2 separate regions of the Homo sapiens genome follow, and region 1 is linked to region 2. Evidence: promoter capture Hi-C in human tissues and cell types (Jung and others, 2019). All regions are on one chromosome and are shown on one strand. The core of a region is centred on a gene start or on the middle of the fragment in contact, and the rest is flanking DNA. Distances in the headings are between cores, read along the strand shown.

Region 1 (4,470 bases), core at 897-3,396, 140 kb before region 2:
CCGGGATTGTGAGGTCTCTGTCACCCAGGCTGGAGTGCAGTGGCACAATCTCGACTCACTGCAGTCTCTGCCTCCCAGGTTCAAGCGATTCTCCTGCCTCAGCCTCCTGAGTAGCTGAGATTACAGGCATGCACCACTACGCCCAGCTAATTTTTTGTATTTTTAATAGAGACAGTGTTTCACCATGTTGGCCAGGCTGGTCTCGAACTCCTGACCTCAAGTGATCCACCTGCCTTTGCCTCCCAAAGTGCTGGGATCACAGATGTGAGCCACTGTGCCTGGCCCACCTTAGCTCTTTTTTTTAAGTAGGTCTCTTCATTTCCAGCTAGCAGGTAATTCTTGATGCTTTCAGATCACCCCCTACCAGAAAAAGCACTAGTGAATTCCTCATACCCATGTGAATAAAATGAAAGCTCCATAGCTTGGAATACTCCATGTGGTCCCCAACCTGTTTTCAATTCCCTTCCCACATGATCCCTCAACATTCCCCTTCATGCAGGAAGCCTTTCCTAATTATCTTCTACCTGAAGATGTAACCAAATACTCCCACCGCATTTTCTAGAACTTTGTAAATGCTTAATTTTATAAATTAGAAAGCATATGCTAAATTGTTCCTAGTAGTCTGGAAGGATCTTCCAGCCATAACCTAGATCATATTGGTCTTTGTTTATCCAAAAATGCCGAACACTCTGTTTGACCCATAATAGCTTTTCAAAAACATTTCTTGAATTTAATCAAGTTAATTCTTTCATTTATTCTTTGAAACACCCAGTTTCTATTTACCAAGGACCACCCCACCCCAGGGATAAAAATGTAGAATTGTGTGACCTTAGGCACCAGCCTTAACTCTTCTAAACCTTGGTTTCTTTCTCTGTAAAATGATCTCTGCTATGAACCAGGTAAGATAATGCATGTGAAACACTTAGCCTAGTGTCTGGCACATAGTATATGCTCAATAAATGTTAACCTGATATTATTATTATTGTCTCCCAAGGCAGTCTGTTCCATTGCCAGGCAGCTACAATACTAAAGCACTCTTCCCAGTTCTGAGTAAAAATATAGCTTCCAACGACATGAAGCCAAGATTCATTGATCTTAGCTTCCTTGCTTGTGAGCAAGAAGAATCAAGTGACTTCTAAGCAGGCTCAGATAATACTTCTAAAAACCTGATTCTCGGTACCAGGCCTGGACTGAAACGAGGAAACTGAGGTCAACTAGGGAGAGAGAGCTGGATTTCATTAATTCCATGGATTTCTAAGAAGAGCTAAGGTTCTTTAAATGGGTTCCTTTTCTACCTTACAAGTTTCTCTCTGGGAGTCCAATATACTGCTTAAATTTCATTTATTTCCTCCAGCTGTAGTGTTTGGGTAAGCAAAATTCTGCAAAATGACTTCACCATTGGCAGTCATTTGCCCTTGGCCAAACTGACTTGCAATTATTCTCAGAGTGTCAGAAGTTTCCAAATTAGCTTAGTCCCTGTCTAGTGCTGAGTAGGCTCCTCAGGGTGGGTCATGTCCATGCCCTGGGCCTCGTGCAGGATGGATCCCATTGCCCCTGAAGAGTAGGTGCCCCATTGTCCATTTTCCCCCACAACTGATTCAGTTCCTGCTGGTAACTATGACATTGACATTTCTATTTTTTCAGCATCCTGCACCCACTTCCACTAGACTCTTCTGTCTCTGGTTTTATTTTTTTAAGTAAATGACCTCTAACTGACAGACGCTTCCCTTCTTGGAGACCAGGCTTTTCACTTTCTTCAATGCACTCTAAAACTGTTGTGTTGTGCTCTCAGGTTAGACAAGCCAAGCTGTAGAGAAGCTTCCACACCCACACACAGGTACTGGGCTTAATTTTCAGAATTCTGAAACGATTTCCAGAAAAGTTAAGAAGCTTCTGCAGCTCTTCAGGGGTTACAATTGCTTATTTTCATGTACACACTAACTTTAGAATAATCCACAATTTTTCTTCAACTCAAGCACCCAAGAGAAAATAAACTGTGTAGTATTTTTTTTAACAAAGTTCACTAAGTATCTACTATATTCCACTGCAGACAGCACTAACCTCCCAACTGACCCTCTGTCTCTAATTTTGTCTTTAATCTATTCTCTACCAGATCAGAGGAATGTTTTAAAATATATAAATCAGAATATCTTACAGCCCTGCTTAGATGTGCTCAATGGCTTCAGTTCTACTCAGAAGGAAATCATGGACTTCAAAGCCCTATTCCTCTGGCTTCTGGCATTTCTCCACTCACACCGTCTTCTCATTTGCTCACCACACACAAGCACACAGAACTTCTTACAGCTCCTCAAATGTGTCGTATCTTTCCTGGCAAAGGCTCACAGTTTTGCACCAACTCTTCCTTCCACCTGGATTACTCTTCCCTAAGGTCTAAATATCTGGCTCGGTCTCATTCTTTTGCCTCCATCATAAATTTAACTTCCTCTGAGAACTCTAGAGTAGAACCCTCTTCCTAACTATGCAAAGCTGCTCTTTCAGTAATTTAGCGTATTTTCTTAACAGCCAGCCATACTCAGTGCCAGGCTTCTTAGAATTGCCATGATTTATGCAGATGATGGCACCAATTTCAAATAAATAAAAAGACTAATGAGAAGAGTCTTCAAACACAGAGTTGCTGCATTACTTCCTCTGGAGGGAGAAAAACAGTAACACAATAACAACCTTTAGTCATTAAACTTATGTGAGTCGTATATAAAAGCTACCTCCGTAACAGCCCCAGAGACATTGCTAGGCAGCATGATTAAAAAGAAAATATTCTCCTTCCTTCTCTTGAGCAGTGCCTTGTTTGCATTTTAAGAAGGAAATCCTACCATGATGGAGCTTCTCTCTGTCACTGGAAGAGCCAAGTTTGATATAATTGCAACAATAGGTTTCCTCTTTAACATTCCAATGTCCTTCTAGGACTGAATTATCAACCCACTTCACACTCCTTAGATGATGCGAAAACAATAAAATTAAGCAGAGACATTTCCTCTTGATCACTGTCCATTGTTGTGCTCTTCAAAAGACAGACACTTGACATAGAAACTTCGGTCATCAGTGAACAAATAAGCCTATGGTTAATAAACCTAGCAAGAAGCAAATCCTAATTTCACAAATTCTGGAAATTGAAGAAATTCAAAATCAAAATAGAATTTAAAAGTAGCAATCAGGCAAGGCGCGGTGGCTCATGCCTCTAATCCCAGCACTTTGGGGGTGCTGAGGAATGTGGATCGCTTAAGGTTAGGAGTTTTGAGACCAACCTGGCCAACATGGCGAAACCCCGTCTCTACTAGAAATACAAAAATTAGCCAGGTGCAGTGGCGGGCACCTGTAATCCCAGCTACTCAGGAGGCTGAGGCGGGAGAATTGCTTGATCCCAGGAGACGGAGGTTGCAGTGAGCCGAGATCACGCCACTGCACTTCAGCCTGGGTGACCAAGCAAGACTCTGTATTTAAAAAGTTGCAATGAGTAAATGCTAACACTTCATGAGTGCTTATTCTGTATGAGAGGTGGTTCCAAGCCTTTAACAGGTGTTATTTCATTTAAACCCCATTATCAACTGTTTGAAGATGTAGCTACTCTCTCTGCATTTTACAGATGAGAAAACTGAGGCATAAAAATATTTAAATGCACGGCATCACCCCGAGATTAAGGAGTGTGTTAGGATTTGATCCCAGGAGTTCTGATTTCAACCACTTATTTTTCCACTGTGCGCCGGAAAGACTTGGGAGTAAATAAATCATATTTAACAGACACACACAGTAACCAAGTACTAGGAGTCCCAAAGGAGAAAGGTTTCTGTAAGTGGTTATGCAAGGCTTCTGCTACCTTGCCAAAATCTTGAGACACCAATAAGTGTGGTTGTCCTACTCAACCTCATGTGATTCAGTCTGACAAAAAGTTGTAGGGATTCATGCAACATCTCCCTTCTCTTGCAACTGGGGCAGATCTTTCGTACCTAACCCTTGTCTGTCTGAGCTGTTACACTAGAGCCCTACCACCAGTTTCTTCTTTCATCATGCAGTCAATTGTCATCCTAAATCTCTGTTCTCATCACTTTGACTTCCTGCACCCATTACGTATTAGACCAACTGGGTATGAATCCCAGCTTTTCCACTTACTATGTGGGGAACCTTGAATGTGTTACTTAACCAAGTCTTAGGTTAGGTACCCTCATCTTAAGTGAGACTAGAGTGACTTGCCCACAATGTTCTTTTGAGGATCTCGTTTATAATGACTCCTCAAAAAATGGTAGCTACGTTACAAAATAAAGCACTGAGAATGTAAGACTTACGTGTGTGTGGCTCTACTAGTATTTCCAGGTTTACACCACACAGATGCCCTTCAAGAATTTTTACCACTGAAGTCCGCCTTCTCTCCTGTAGACCAGCATTTCTCCAAGTGTGGTTCTTGCACCCTCTGGATCAGACTCATGGGCAGTGCTTTGAACATACAGATTCCTAGGC
Region 2 (4,554 bases), core at 14-2,513:
GAGATGGAACACATACCCCAGGCCAAGGGGACAGCAGGTGCAGAACCCTGTGGAAGGAGGGAAAATGGCAATCGTCTTTTTTTTTTTTTTTTTTTTTTTTAAGGAATAGAAGACAAGGGCATTTAAAGCAGTGAGGCACAGGAAGAATGAGGGGAGAGAAGAGGCAGCACTTACATCATTCATTGTACCACATTTGTTGACTGTGTCCTTCATGCCTCATGCTCTGAAATTGACCTTTTCCAATATAAGGACCATGTCTCACTGAAATCATGTCCACCCCAGCACTTCACACAATATAGAAAAAAAAATCAATGTACCCAATTTATAGATGAGTGTGTTGAGGCTCAGGAAGGTTGAATGAGTTGCCCAAGATCTCAAGGCTGGCAATGGCATAGCAACTATAATAGAATATAGACCTACTTCCTCACCTGCATCTCTTTCCTTAAACTGCCCCTAGGAAAACCACGTCCTTCCCCATTATTTTATTTCAGAAATTCCAAGTTTTTCTATGAGCTGTTTTTCTCAAAGAGCCTGATAACAAAACAAAACGCCAGTTACTACTCTGTGTATGTGCATGCATGTTGGGGAGCGGGTACACACTGGTCTTCCGGGGATCAGAACACGAACAGGATCCTTTCTGGTACAGGATTCTTGTCTGAAGCCTCTTTAATAGCCCGAAATGGTGTGGGTGGTGAGAATTCGCCGTCGTAAGGAAGCCCCTGGTGATACCCAGCAAAGAGCATCCCGGCTGACCCTGCAGGTCTGGAGTGAAAAGACCCTGCACTGGACTCTTCAGGGCAGTGAGCGGGATCTCTAGTTCCCTGCTTCCCAAACCTCTCCGCCCTTCCACCCAAAACTGGCTGTTTGAGAAACGACCCAATTTCCCGACTATCCCGCCCAGCCTCGAAGATGGGAGGGAGAGAGGGCAACCTTGTCGCGGTAAGGCATCCTCCAGGCCCAGACATTAGTCTCGGTCCATTTCAAGGCACCCGAGCCTGTGCCGTATATAACCAAGTACTGGGCCCACAGGAAGGGGGATGACAGGGTGGTCTCTCTAGGCTCGTTTTAGTCACAGATCTTCGGCAAATTTGGGTTTAGGGCCGCGATCCCGACCCTAACTTGGGACTATTTCAGGAACTGGAGTTGAGGCTTCGTTGGGACAGGAAAGAAGGGTGGGGCGGGGGTGAAGCGCTTAGGGCACGGCTCTTGTGAGGATTACGGCGGAGGCTGTGGACCGCGGCGGCGCTCGCAGAGGCTGCAGCCATTGCACAGCCGAGCATCCCACATTCAACAGGAGGAACCCGCGGGAGAGGAGCCCCACTCCCCCAGCGCCGCAGCCACCGCAGCCACCGCAGCCCGTGCGCCCCGCGCCCTCGAGCGCCATGGCCAAGGAAGGCGTGGAGAAGGCGGAGGAGACGGAGCAAATGATCGAGAAGGAGGCAGGCAAGGAGCCGGCGGAGGGCGGCGGCGGCGACGGCTCGCACCGCCTCGGGGACGCCCAGGAGATGCGCGCGGTGGTGCTGGCTGGCTTCGGGGGGCTCAACAAGCTGCGGCTCTTCAGGAAGGCCATGCCCGAGCCTCAGGACGGCGAGCTCAAGATCCGCGTCAAAGCCTGGTCCAGTATCCGCGCCTTTCTCGCTTTCTCTCTTTTTGCGCGCTGGGCGCTGGGGAGGGGGTGGGAAAGCTGCGGCTGGGATGCTGCCCGGGTAGAACCGCCGCGCGCACCCCCTCCGCGCCCTCACCCGGGTCTCAGAGCCTCCCCGGGCCAAAGCTGGGGAGGATGCAGAGGGGCGGCCTCCCCAAGCCAGATCTAGGGGTGACGGGAGGAGAATGTGAGCTCCTGGGCGCGGGGAGAATGCTGGCGCCCAGGCACCCCGGGTCTGGAAGATTGCGCTACGGGAGTTCTCCGTCTGAGAGGACAACTCAGCTTTCGCACGGGAGGGTTGATGCTTAACAGAATTAAAAATATATGTATTAAGAACCGCAAGCCCACTGTGTGCCAGCCGCCGTTGGTAGTTTTACACGTGCGATCTTATTTAATACTTCCTGGGACCTAATGAGTCAGGTGCCATCATGATCCGTTTACAGGTAAGAAAGCCGCCGCTCAGCGAGAATGAGTGATTTGCCCAAGATCAGTCAGCTGCCACTAAGTGGCTTGGCCGGGAATTTGATACATGATCTTTTTTCACCTCTATGCTGTTGTCCTGAAGGGCCTGGGACAGGGTGCAGGGCTGGATCCCGCCTCCTGCCCACTTCCTTCCCCGTAGCCTGACGGGGAAAGGAACTAGGAAGGAAGAGGGTCGGTACCTTGCACCCAGGCTTGGTGAGGGTGGAGACCAGGGCTGCAGCGCAACCCCCTCCATGCCCCTCTCCATCCTCTGTTTCTCCGAGAGGGGAAAAAACCCTGATCAGTCTCCCCGGAATTCCTGGTCCCATCTCAGAAGGAGCTCAGCTCTCTAAGCTGCCCTCTATTCCCCATTCCCCCTGGGGGAACTTCTCCAGGCCCTCACGCTCAGCTGAAATTCCCGGGGAGAGTTTAAGCCTCTCTGTGTGCGGGCACTGTAATTTCCCTGAAGTTCTGGGAAGAGCTTACCCAGCAGAGGCGGACTGGACCCAACACTAGGTTTGCATGTTAAACTTGTAAGGGGAACTTGCTATTAATCACGGTGAGACGAGCCTATTCCTTCCCATCTGTTTTCTAGAGCCCCCCAGTACATACTGCTCTCCAAAGCAGCAGCCAGCTCACGAGCTTCTAGGTTAGATCAGAAACCCAATATCTGGACCTCTCTAGAGGCACGAGAAATACAAACGAGGGTCCCCTCCCGTTCACCACCTTGAGAACAGACGCAGGTTTCATCGGCCAGATTAGAAAGCAGCTAGTGGGAGAAGCAGCCGCTGATCCCTGCCTTGCTGCTCATATATGCAGCTGGTCAGGTTTGACTCTGAACACGACTCGTGAGTCTCTGTGGGGAATTCCGGGTAAGGGAAGAGGCTTTTGCAAACCGGGGGATCCTGTACAATAAACTCTTATTGAACCAAGTTGTTTGATCCCAGAAGGAGAGCTTATATCTGCCCTTTCGCAGCTAAATCCCCAAAGACCAGCCCACTCCCCCACCCCACACTGTTTGGCCCACTGCACATCCTAAATAAGTTATCGCTGAATGAATGGATTGAGGAAAGAGCTCGGAGGAGGATTGTTGGGTCATTATTTTTCTTTACTTGCTGGTGGAAGAGCTTTTGCTTAGTACAATTAAAACCATGCATTTAGAACTCTCCTTCCTTAACCACTTCATCAAAAAAAATTACCTGTATACACACACCTATGCATATATGTGCATATACATATATACAATTATATATACAGTTGCATATGTATGCGTATGTAATTTATGACCCTTCATCCAAATTGAGGATGGGATTCTAGGATTCTAGAGTACATATTCAGAGAGGGAAAATGATAAAACTACTTTTTAAAGGAAAGAGCATCATCTGCAGTACACATAGTTCTGTGTTTTCCAGTCTTATGTTAACTGCATAATTGCTGATAGGAACTGAAGCATTTTGAAATAATAAATGTCAAGATGAAGGCCAAGAGATTGATTTTCAAAGCCAGATGTGAAAGCCTGTTCTTCAGTGGCGCTACACACACACACACAGAAATCACTGCACTTCCCCGACCCTAGTTGTTCAGAAAGCCAACCAGGCTGCAGGTACATTTGGAATACAGTGTTGCAAACAGCCCAGATTGATTTTCCTTTCACCAAGCTGGAAGCAGAGTTAATGGTTTTACAAGGAAGGATTGTAATAGGCTTGTAAATGGCCCACTGGGCAGCTCCTTCTCCTCTGGGCTGGGATTGGCTGGCCAGACATGATCATTGATTATAAGTTTTAGCCTTGGGATACAGGATGACTCATTCTGTATTTTTATGAATCAGCCGATGGCTTCCTGGATGATGGTCTCCCTTTTATCTGCTCTCTATTTTTAATAGAAACCTTTTTGTCATAATAGGATATGCTTTTTGCTTGGAATAAAGCATAGTCCATTTGAACCAGTATTAGACAGACCTGGAATGACGTTCCAAGTTGGCTATGAATTTTATGAAAATGGAAGAGATGAGGCAGGAAGAAATATCCATTTTATATCATGGACCCTTTTTCATTAATGCGCCAGTGAGATGGGTATTTTTCCTACAGAACAGAAGAGCAAATTGAGGCTTGGAAACATTGAGTAATTTGCCAAAAACATCAAAAAATAGTAGACTTAGGATTTGAATCTAATTCTCCTTATATTTTTGCTATTTTCCTTTTATTCCATTTTTGTCTCCCTTGGTGGAAAAGCCTTAGCACATGTGATTCCCCTCTTAGCATGCAGTCTCACTTTCTTTCCTTTCTCCACCGAAGATGGTTCCTTTGCTCTTTTTGTGTCTGGCTTAAGAGAATATTCTCTAGCTATTTCCAAAGTAGTATGGCTTTCTCCAGAAAGTAGAGACATTTTGGTCAAATGCAGCTCAAAAAGAACTGTTGCTGGGGTCAGGGTTGGAATGATAGCAGAGT

What was found. The method cuts DNA at HindIII sites, captures the fragments that hold promoters and counts their contacts. A contact is called where the count stands out against the background at its distance.
Region 1: a fragment that was not itself captured here is called in contact with the fragment with the promoter of VAT1L in region 2 in 2 of the 25 tissues and cell types used here (adrenal gland and neural progenitor cells).

What each region holds. Positions count from the first base shown.
Region 1 is chr16:77,648,714-77,653,183 of GRCh38, forward strand. No RefSeq gene overlaps it. Among named protein-coding and RNA genes, the nearest start is that of LINC02131, 60 kb to the left of the region's middle. The HindIII fragment of the contact is 6,352 bases long and covers 1-4,470 here.
Region 2 is chr16:77,787,301-77,791,854 of GRCh38, forward strand. VAT1L (vesicle amine transport 1 like) reads left to right here and starts at 1,264. Exons shown (of 9, transcript NM_020927.3): 1 at 1,264-1,615. The coding sequence starts at 1,383. All of the region lies in intron 1 of LOC107984878 (a long non-coding RNA gene), which reads right to left. The HindIII fragment of the contact is 13,812 bases long and covers 1-4,554 here.